Regions from separate parts of the Homo sapiens genome. Here region 2 is linked to region 1. Evidence: promoter capture Hi-C in human tissues and cell types (Jung and others, 2019). All regions are on one chromosome and are shown on one strand. Each heading gives the region's core, a stretch centred on a gene start or on the middle of the fragment in contact. The rest is flanking DNA. Distances are from core to core; before and after follow the strand shown.

Region 1 (4,089 bases), core at 305-2,804:
TTTGATTTCTTACATTTAGCAACCCAAGCAAACAGCTGCCATCTCCGCTGGTGGAGGCAAACGGCTAGTCCTTGACATGCCGCCGGCTCCGTGCCTGCGGGGGAAGGGTCAACCGCAAGGAAACTTTGAGGATTCTGCCAGACTGGGTGGGGGAAGGCTCTGGTGTTTGGGAGGAATAAGCGGAGGAAATTGTGGATACCTGTTGGCATCAGCGTTGGCGGCAGCACGTTTTTTTACCGTTTCCCAGCCTTGGCTGGATCCTGGGAGAACCGGAGTAGGTCCCTTATGAACCTCTTACGTACTGGCAGAACCTAGGCAAGAGCCTTTTTCCCTCCGATCCTGCGAGGGGCGCGACCAGCCCCTCAAAGGTTCCCGGATGAGAAGCGGCCAGACCACAGAAAGCGCAGGTCTGGGCTCAGCTGTCCCTAGGAGAGCGGCTACGGAGTCCCCGGCTTAAGGGGGCCTCCGTGCACGCAATCTCGAGTTGCGGGGAGACACTGCCTGGGGGTCCTGCAGGGGTGCTGGGCAGCGTCTTGGCGAGGGCAGAGCCGCAGGGCGACTCCGGAGCCCGGCAAGTTTGTAGCGGGCACCGCACCTCCCAGAGCTGGAGCTGCCACTTGTGGGAAAGCCTCGCGCTGGGGCTTTCGCAGCTGAGCCTTGGCCCGCAGCCCTGCCGCGGGGGTCGCCCTCCCTCGCCTCGGAGATGAGGCGGTGCAGAAAACCAGCCATAGACCACTCGGGCCCCCTCGCCTCCTTTTTTCCCTGGCTTGCACCCTCCGCACAGCGGGCTGCAGGTGCTTCCCATTCACCGCACGGACCCCGCAGTGAAGGCGCGCGGCTGCAGCCGCGCCTGCCTGCGTTGGGAAGCGGCGAAATAGCCAAGTCGCCGCAGGGAAGGAAACCGGCAGGAAAACTGGAGGGGCACAGCCTGGAGCTTGCTACTCTCTAGGATCTGTTGTCAAAGCAGTTTGCAAAAACAGTCAGGCAAAACCTTGAGGCGTACGTACGTTATCACCCACGGATATCGCGAAAGACACAGCTTAGCCCAGAGCCTATGCTAAGAACCCTCATCCACCATCTGAGGGGCAGGAGGCGCGCAAGGTGTCCGAAGGGGCATGGGAATTCCTATAAGAAACGGTCCCTTCTGGATAGTCGGAACATAGAGGAAAACGGGGGTGGGTTAGGGGAACACTTACTCTTGTGGGGCCCTGCGCTGGCGAATGTCAAGCCTCCAGGTTCACAAATGGCTGGAGGTGCTCGGGGTTAGCTCCCGAGGGCGGCAAGCGCCGACCGGTCCTCGCTCGCTAGGCAGGCGCCTCCGGATTCCGTTCATGCCTCTCGGAGCTACAGGGCTTGGTGCGGAGACGCAGGGCGGGCGCGCTGGGCTCTGGGTGTCCGCAACCCAAAGTGCAGCTGGTGTCTTGACGCTACCGTCTATGCACAAGCCGGCGGCGGCGGCGGAGCTTGGAGGAGGCAGGGAGATTCCAAATAAATCCACTAATTCTGGGCTGAGCGCTCCGGCGTGCGAGCCCGCCTGCCTGCCAAATGTAACTGTGAAGTGATGTGGAAAAGTGAGCCGGGTGCCTCCCCTGACGGATCTCATTGGGCAGAGCGCAGAGGCAGGTCTACCACTTGGAAATTCATGTAAGCAGTCCCCCCTCCCCGCCCCCTCCCCGCCTTCCCCCTTCGCTCTCCCGCGCTGGCTCGATCGCTCTCTTTCCCCCTACCCAAGTGGGCGCACAACTTTTCGCTCCTCGCTCCCGAGCAAGCCCCGCGCGTCTCTGCCGCCAGAGCCACGAGGTGAAGATGCGCCCTTCCGCGCGGTGCGCGCAGCCCGCTGAGGACCGAGCTCCTGGATAAGTGGGCTGGCAGATAATAACAGCATGCGGATGAGGTACCTGCGAGCTTTCTCTCTAGAGGTCTCACCTGAGCTCTGGGGCTGGCGTTATGTTGAAAAGCGTCTCAGTGACCCGCAGCTATTTTCCGTAGGAGGAAGAGGACGCGACAGGGCAAAGGGTTGAGCGTGGGCAGCTTACCTCCTCTTTATTCCAAGGGCCTCTTGCGTACAGAATAGGGTGATTGTGAGACCCCTGCCTGCAACTCAGACGCTATGTAGAGGCTGTGTGTCGCGGTTCTGTGATGGAGCGCATTCCTGATGTCCCCGTGCTCCTTTGGGAAAATGGGATGAGGGACAGCAGAGTGGCAGCCAGGAGGGGCGCGCAGTAGTTGGTTGTGGGGAGGAGGGCAGGCAAAGCAGAACTTGCTTGGGAAATAGGGGAGGAATTTCTAGGTCTTCTCAATGTGCCCTGATCTTGTCATATCCTCTCAGATACCATCCTTGCGGTTCTCCTGCCTCCACCAAGACCTGCCCTGTCTGTGGTCACTTCAAGTCTTCTGATGGGCTGCGCTCAGATCTTGAGAAATGGCCACCCTGGGGTAAAAGGGACCATGAATCAGGAGGTCCAGATTTCTTTTCTTTTTCAACACTGGGGCTAACATGTAGACGATGCCACAGTCATCATCTTCTAATAAAATTAGATAAATATAAGACAAATAAATTCTTACCTTAAAAAAAAAAACCCTCCCCTCCACAGGAGATCCCGATTTAGTCCCTTCCCTGTGTGCACTAGACGTGAGCCTGAGGGTGGATTTTACCATCTGGGGACAGAGCAAGAACAGAAGGGGGAAAAAGGTGCAGGGGACAAGACGCACAGTCTGTAGAGCTTGTACTGTCTCACTCAAATTAATGAGAAAGAGTGAACAGAATGAGAAAATAGGCACAACATGCTTATGATATTTATGCAAATTTGACATTTTTTTGTGTGCTGCATCTGACAACCCATTGTGAAATGTGAAAAAGAGTATTGGCTGTAGCTCTAATATCTGATTGTTTCATGTTCTAGCTGTCATAGGCAAGAAACTTAGTGGATTATTTCAGAGAGGGAGAGGTGAAGAGAACCAAGTGGTATTTTTTTTCCCCCAGGCAGTCACTAAGTAACTGTTTGTTCTCTTCTCAGACTGTGTCTGCTTACAGGGTATTGGAATTGGCTAATTCTGTCTTGGAAAAAGGAGCAGCAGTCAAGGCTCAATCAAATTATAACTGCTGCTAGACCAGACAGTCCCAAGTGGACAAAGAAATAGATCACATTTTGGGTTGTGCTTAATTTCAGATATTCATTTTCACTTGAACAAATAATTTGAACCGTTCCTTGGGGTAACTTCTTACATCTATGAAAACTCAAAAAAACTCATGTGCTACTGAAAGCTGGGGATTGTCACAAGTAACAAACTTGTCTCAAAAAAAAAAAAAAAAGCCAGATTGTTAGACAATATCCTCAAATCTCATTTTCTTAACAAACTATGCTGACATAGTAAAGATAGTCAGAATCCAATGGCTTTTAAAGAGAGCCAGAATCCAATGGCTTTGGGTATCTAGGGTTAAGAAGAGTTTGCTTTGACTCATCTTGTCCATATTTACTCTTACAGCAGTTATATACATTGTCTTCCCTGAATTTTGGTCCTCTGGAATTCAGGGTAACCTGTCTATACCTGCTAATATCTGCTCAAAGCGTTACAATAGGAATTTCCTGACTAATTCTTAAGAGAGGTTTGGATGATTAAGCAGTGTGATAGAGGATTAGGATAATGTTAGAAAGCCCTATAAGGATATTTCTAAAATAATCAGGGATGCTGAAAGACAAGGCATTTATCTCTTTAACAATTCCACCCACTCTTAATAAGATGCAGTGTAATGTCACAATGGTGAAAGCCTACCCCCTTAAGAAAGTGTTTTCTTTTCAACATCCTCTCCAGGGTTACAGCCTTCCAGCGGGAAGAGGACTGTGGTACATAGGCTTTTTAGAATGGCAAGTGAAATTGCATGTGTTGTGGAGCATTGCGGGGGAGGAAGGGTGAGGAATTATCTGATAGGGCAGGAGTATAATTGGAGAAGGAGTTGGGGGGAGGGAGAGAAGATTGCATTCAGAATAACCTTGGCTGACTAATGCAAAAAGTAGAATGAGGCAGGATGTCTCTAGCCTGGGTCTCGGTGACAGGCAGGCAGTTTTGCAGGGGAGTCTACTGTAGAGA
Region 2 (4,047 bases), core at 1,345-3,844, 220 kb before region 1:
ACGTGCTATATCACTAAGTACAGGAAGCTTATCCTTTTTAAGTTTCCTTCTTTATAAAACTGAAATCATACTAAGTATTTCTTGGTGTCATTTGTAAGAATTACGTGAGATAATACATAATAGGAGCTTAGTATGGTGTCGGATTCATCAAATAAAAATAACATTGTTTTCTCCTTTACCTTGCCCATCACAATCTGGTTCACAGCCAATAATAACAAACCCATACCAGGTGGCTAGGCAGATGAGCAAAGATCACAGCATTTATACTCTGGTTAATTCCACAGATTTGGTTTATTTTTCTTCTTTCCTGATATTCAGTGAGGTCATTTAGAGAATGAATAGTCAATTATTTCCATTATAATTGGTCCTACTCAGTCATCCTAAAGCTTATAGGCCCAGTTGACGAGTTACAGAGATCACAAGGAAAAGAAAGGACTGGGGATAGGCATGGCACCATCATAAGACCCAAGTGCACACCCCAGTTCCACTTCTAACTATTTGTGTGATACTGGGCAAGTTAGTTCTTTAATCCTCAGGTTTCACATCTCTTAAATGGGTATAACCGAGACAGCCAAATGCCTAAGCTGATAAAAGGCCCTTGGAGAATCTCCGGCCTGCCCCGCAAGTGTTTACATCAGATGCTCTTGTGCAGATGAGGGAACTGGCCCAGGGCTGTGTCTGAGCATGTCTACATGCGCACTGGGGGAACAGGGTGGAGCCACGGGCAGGGGGAGAAGCCTGGTCTCCAGTTCCGTGTCCTAGCCGGGAGGATTCAATCTGTGAGGTGGGGAGCCTGTTAGCATGACTCTTATCTTGCTTTGCTGTTTTTTTTTCCCTTTTTGCCCAATAAAATCCTGTCCTACTCACCTTTTAATGTGTCTGCGTACCTAAATTTTCCTTGTTATGTGATAAGAACCCAGCTTTAGCTGCAACATAATGACTCCACATATATATACTAGAAGTGTTAGAGAATGAAACAAGTATATGTTGCACAGGTCCTGATATATACCAAGCACTCACTAGTAACAACATCCGTAGCAGTAGCAGGAGAAAATAAGACTAAATGAGATCAATTAGACTATTTAGCCTATAGCTGTCAAAGAAAAAACACAATTCTGCACACAGCCACCTAGATGAATCTCTACTAAAATAAGTTTTAGGTTCTTAATTTGCATTTAAGATGTGAAATTGATGGTGGCTTACCTTTTATTAACTGGTAACCCTACTAGCTACCACATATTTTATTCAATATTGTCACTTAATCATCTCATTAACACTGCAAGAAAGATGATATTATCCCATACGGAGGAGAAAACTGAATCTCAGAGAATTCCAGAGACTAGTTCTCCGACTGGGAAGTAGTAGTGATATGATTTCAACCTTAGTCTCCCTAAATTCAAAATATGTCATATTTTAAATAATTTACACAACTTTATTTTACATTAGTGAAAGACATAGTATTGCAGAAAGTAGCAAGGAACTAATTAATGTTCCTGCAAGTGAGAGGGTAAGATGACGGATTTTTCTCTATGTCACTTTTCATTTTCCCCCGTAAAGGAATATACAGACAAATACATACAGATAGAGATATAGTAGTAGGTATAAGAAGTCAAAAATACATGATATTTCTAGCTTGACAATGTGCTCTAAAAAGAAATTGAACCGCGTGAGAAGCCAACCAACCAACAAATAACTGTATGTTTTAGCATGGCAGATGCTGGGATAACTGCCTATTTCTTGCTGGATAGCAAATTAAACGTTATCCTAAAAGATGGATACATTCTTGTCAGTGTATAAAATACAACAGTCCTAAAGAGAAAATAATGCATAGCTATGTGTTACCCAATAATTCCCTGAATATCCATATCCTCTGGTTCTGTCTAAAAAGGTTAAATGGCTCTAAATCTGTCTGCTAGACTCATAAGGAACTATGCATTGCTCTGGCTAGTCAGGAAATTTAATTTTCTTCTGAAATTAACCAATTGTGCATAGAGAGAGGGAAGCTGCTCTCCATGATCCAACTGGGGTGGAGGTGGGGGCAGAGGACTGTAGAACTGCAGAACAGATGTTGAAAAATATGGTTTGTGATTCTTAAGTTCTCATCCCATGGAGCCAAGCCAGGTTTAATAAAAAATGTGTGGGCTCCCCCTTCTGAATGACATGCCAAAGGCTGCTGTAAATGCTTTGAAACAGCATTTGTCCCTTCTTTGGGTAGAACCATAGATGCTGAAGAACTAGCACTTGCCTGACATCTATCAGAAGCACAGATATGCCTGTGTCATCAAATAGTGCTTTATCTGTCCATCTCTTCCTGGTAAAAACAGTCTCAAATCCCCTTTAGCTTTCCTGAAAATGAAATGCTTCTAAGCTGGACAGTTATTTCTAAACAGCCTCAAGCTTCCTCTACACAAACTTTCCTGCCAGTAACAGTAATAAAAGTAGCAATAGCAATAATAATAACTAGCAACTACAATGAGAATCTTCTCTTGATTCCCTGTGAACTGGAATTAGTATCAGTAAATCTCCATTTTTACATCAGTAAAATGAATAGATTATAAAATGTGCAACCATATGTGGACAACTATGAACCTGGATTTATAGCTAGCTCTGCCAATAAGATGCTACTTTTACTATGGCATGAAAGTTCCTTAAGCCTCATCTCTAGATGATTAAGATCGTGTCTCTGCACAGCCAGTCCATTCCCACTGGTACCATGTAGTCCATGTTGGGAGCTTATATTATTGTGCTGATATCTGAACCCTTATTTTCCCTAAGGACCCTTGGCTTGGCAGACTCTGAAGCCCTTACATGCTCCTGGCTGACAAGAGTAGAAACCTTGTCAAATCAAGCACTAAAACCGGTCCTCTGATTGGTGTCTCAGTTGAACCAATCTCATTTCCTCCCTTCACATTCTTTCTCCTGCTTGGAGATGTAAAGGATGTGGCAACTACTCCTTTTTGAGTTCCTTTCAGAGGAAATTGAGAAACATAGGAACAGGGCAGATTCATCCACTCAACAAATATCATTGTCCCCATTAATGTCAGCATTCCAGCATAAAGCCATTGCATAATTTCACTATATTTTCCGGAAATTAATGCCAATGTAAATTTTTTTTTGGATATTCCTCCCATTGCATTCAACATTGGCCCATTAATAGATATAATTTTCTTAGCCAAATACCCTTATTTTTTGCATATGTCTATAGTTTGTGAAATTTCTTTAGAACTGAGAATGGCCAATGGACCATTTCTCAAATCCCCAGGTAGTTTCATCTTCTTAGAGGTTAGACTCTTCTGCAGGAAGAGTCTTCTTTGCATACTTATTGGCTGTAGTCTTATTTGTTATTCTGAATTTAGAAATGATTTGTACTTAAAAACAAAAAGTGCTCTTCTGGGTCTGTAAATAATTTTTGTACAAATTCAACTTATTTGGGGTGCTGATTGTCCTGCAAGGTTTTAATCTCAGCCTCATAGTCTCAGCACCCTTGTGAGTAACAGGAATTTAATACATTTTTTAAAAAATCGAATAAATAAACCGACAGATAACTCACTTTACCAGGGTTTCCCCAAATGAAGTAATTGGAAGCAGGTCTGCCCTAGTTATTTGTGACTTGTAAATTGAAAGGGTTTGGTATGAGCTGACATCAAACTCAGAAATCAGCTGGACAATTCTTTAAAATTGTATTCCTCCATCTACTTCTTACTCTCTATCTCCTTGATTTTGCAACAAATATTTGTAAGACAATATTTGAAATCCACACTCAAAACACATCATTAGCCAACACTTCACCCTTGGAGACCAGCATAGAAGTTATAGATTTTCAGTGTGCTTTCAGGAGAAAGCTATTTAGCTGGAGAACCTGTACTGTCATTTGGGTGACTGGAAAAAGAAAAAAGATGTGTACAGTACAACAGAAAAAAAAAATCGAATGGAGCTTCATTTCTAAAAAAGACAGAAAAGCTTTAATAAAGAATTATTTCGCATCCTGGGGAAAAATTTTGAGCAGAAAAACTATAAACAGAGGGTATTTTTGAAATGGCAGAGAAA

The links. Contacts are between HindIII fragments. The study calls those that stand out against the background at their distance.
Region 2: a contact is called between a fragment that was not itself captured here and the fragment with the promoter of CDH8 in region 1, in 3 of the 25 tissues and cell types used here (aorta, dorsolateral prefrontal cortex and hippocampus).

Annotation. Positions count from the first base shown.
Region 1 is chr16:62,034,884-62,038,972 of GRCh38, forward strand. CDH8 (cadherin 8) reads right to left here and starts at 1,555. Exons shown (of 12, transcript NM_001796.5): 1 at 1,197-1,555. LOC124903777 (a long non-coding RNA gene) reads left to right here and starts at 1,707. Exons shown (of 2, transcript XR_007065217.1): 1 at 1,707-1,894; 2 at 2,330-2,550. The HindIII fragment of the contact is 11,196 bases long and covers 1-4,089 here.
Region 2 is chr16:61,812,853-61,816,899 of GRCh38, forward strand. All of the region lies in intron 7 of CDH8 (cadherin 8), which reads right to left. Among named protein-coding and RNA genes, the nearest start is that of CDH8-AS1, 100 kb to the right of the region's middle. The HindIII fragment of the contact is 4,777 bases long and covers 207-4,047 here.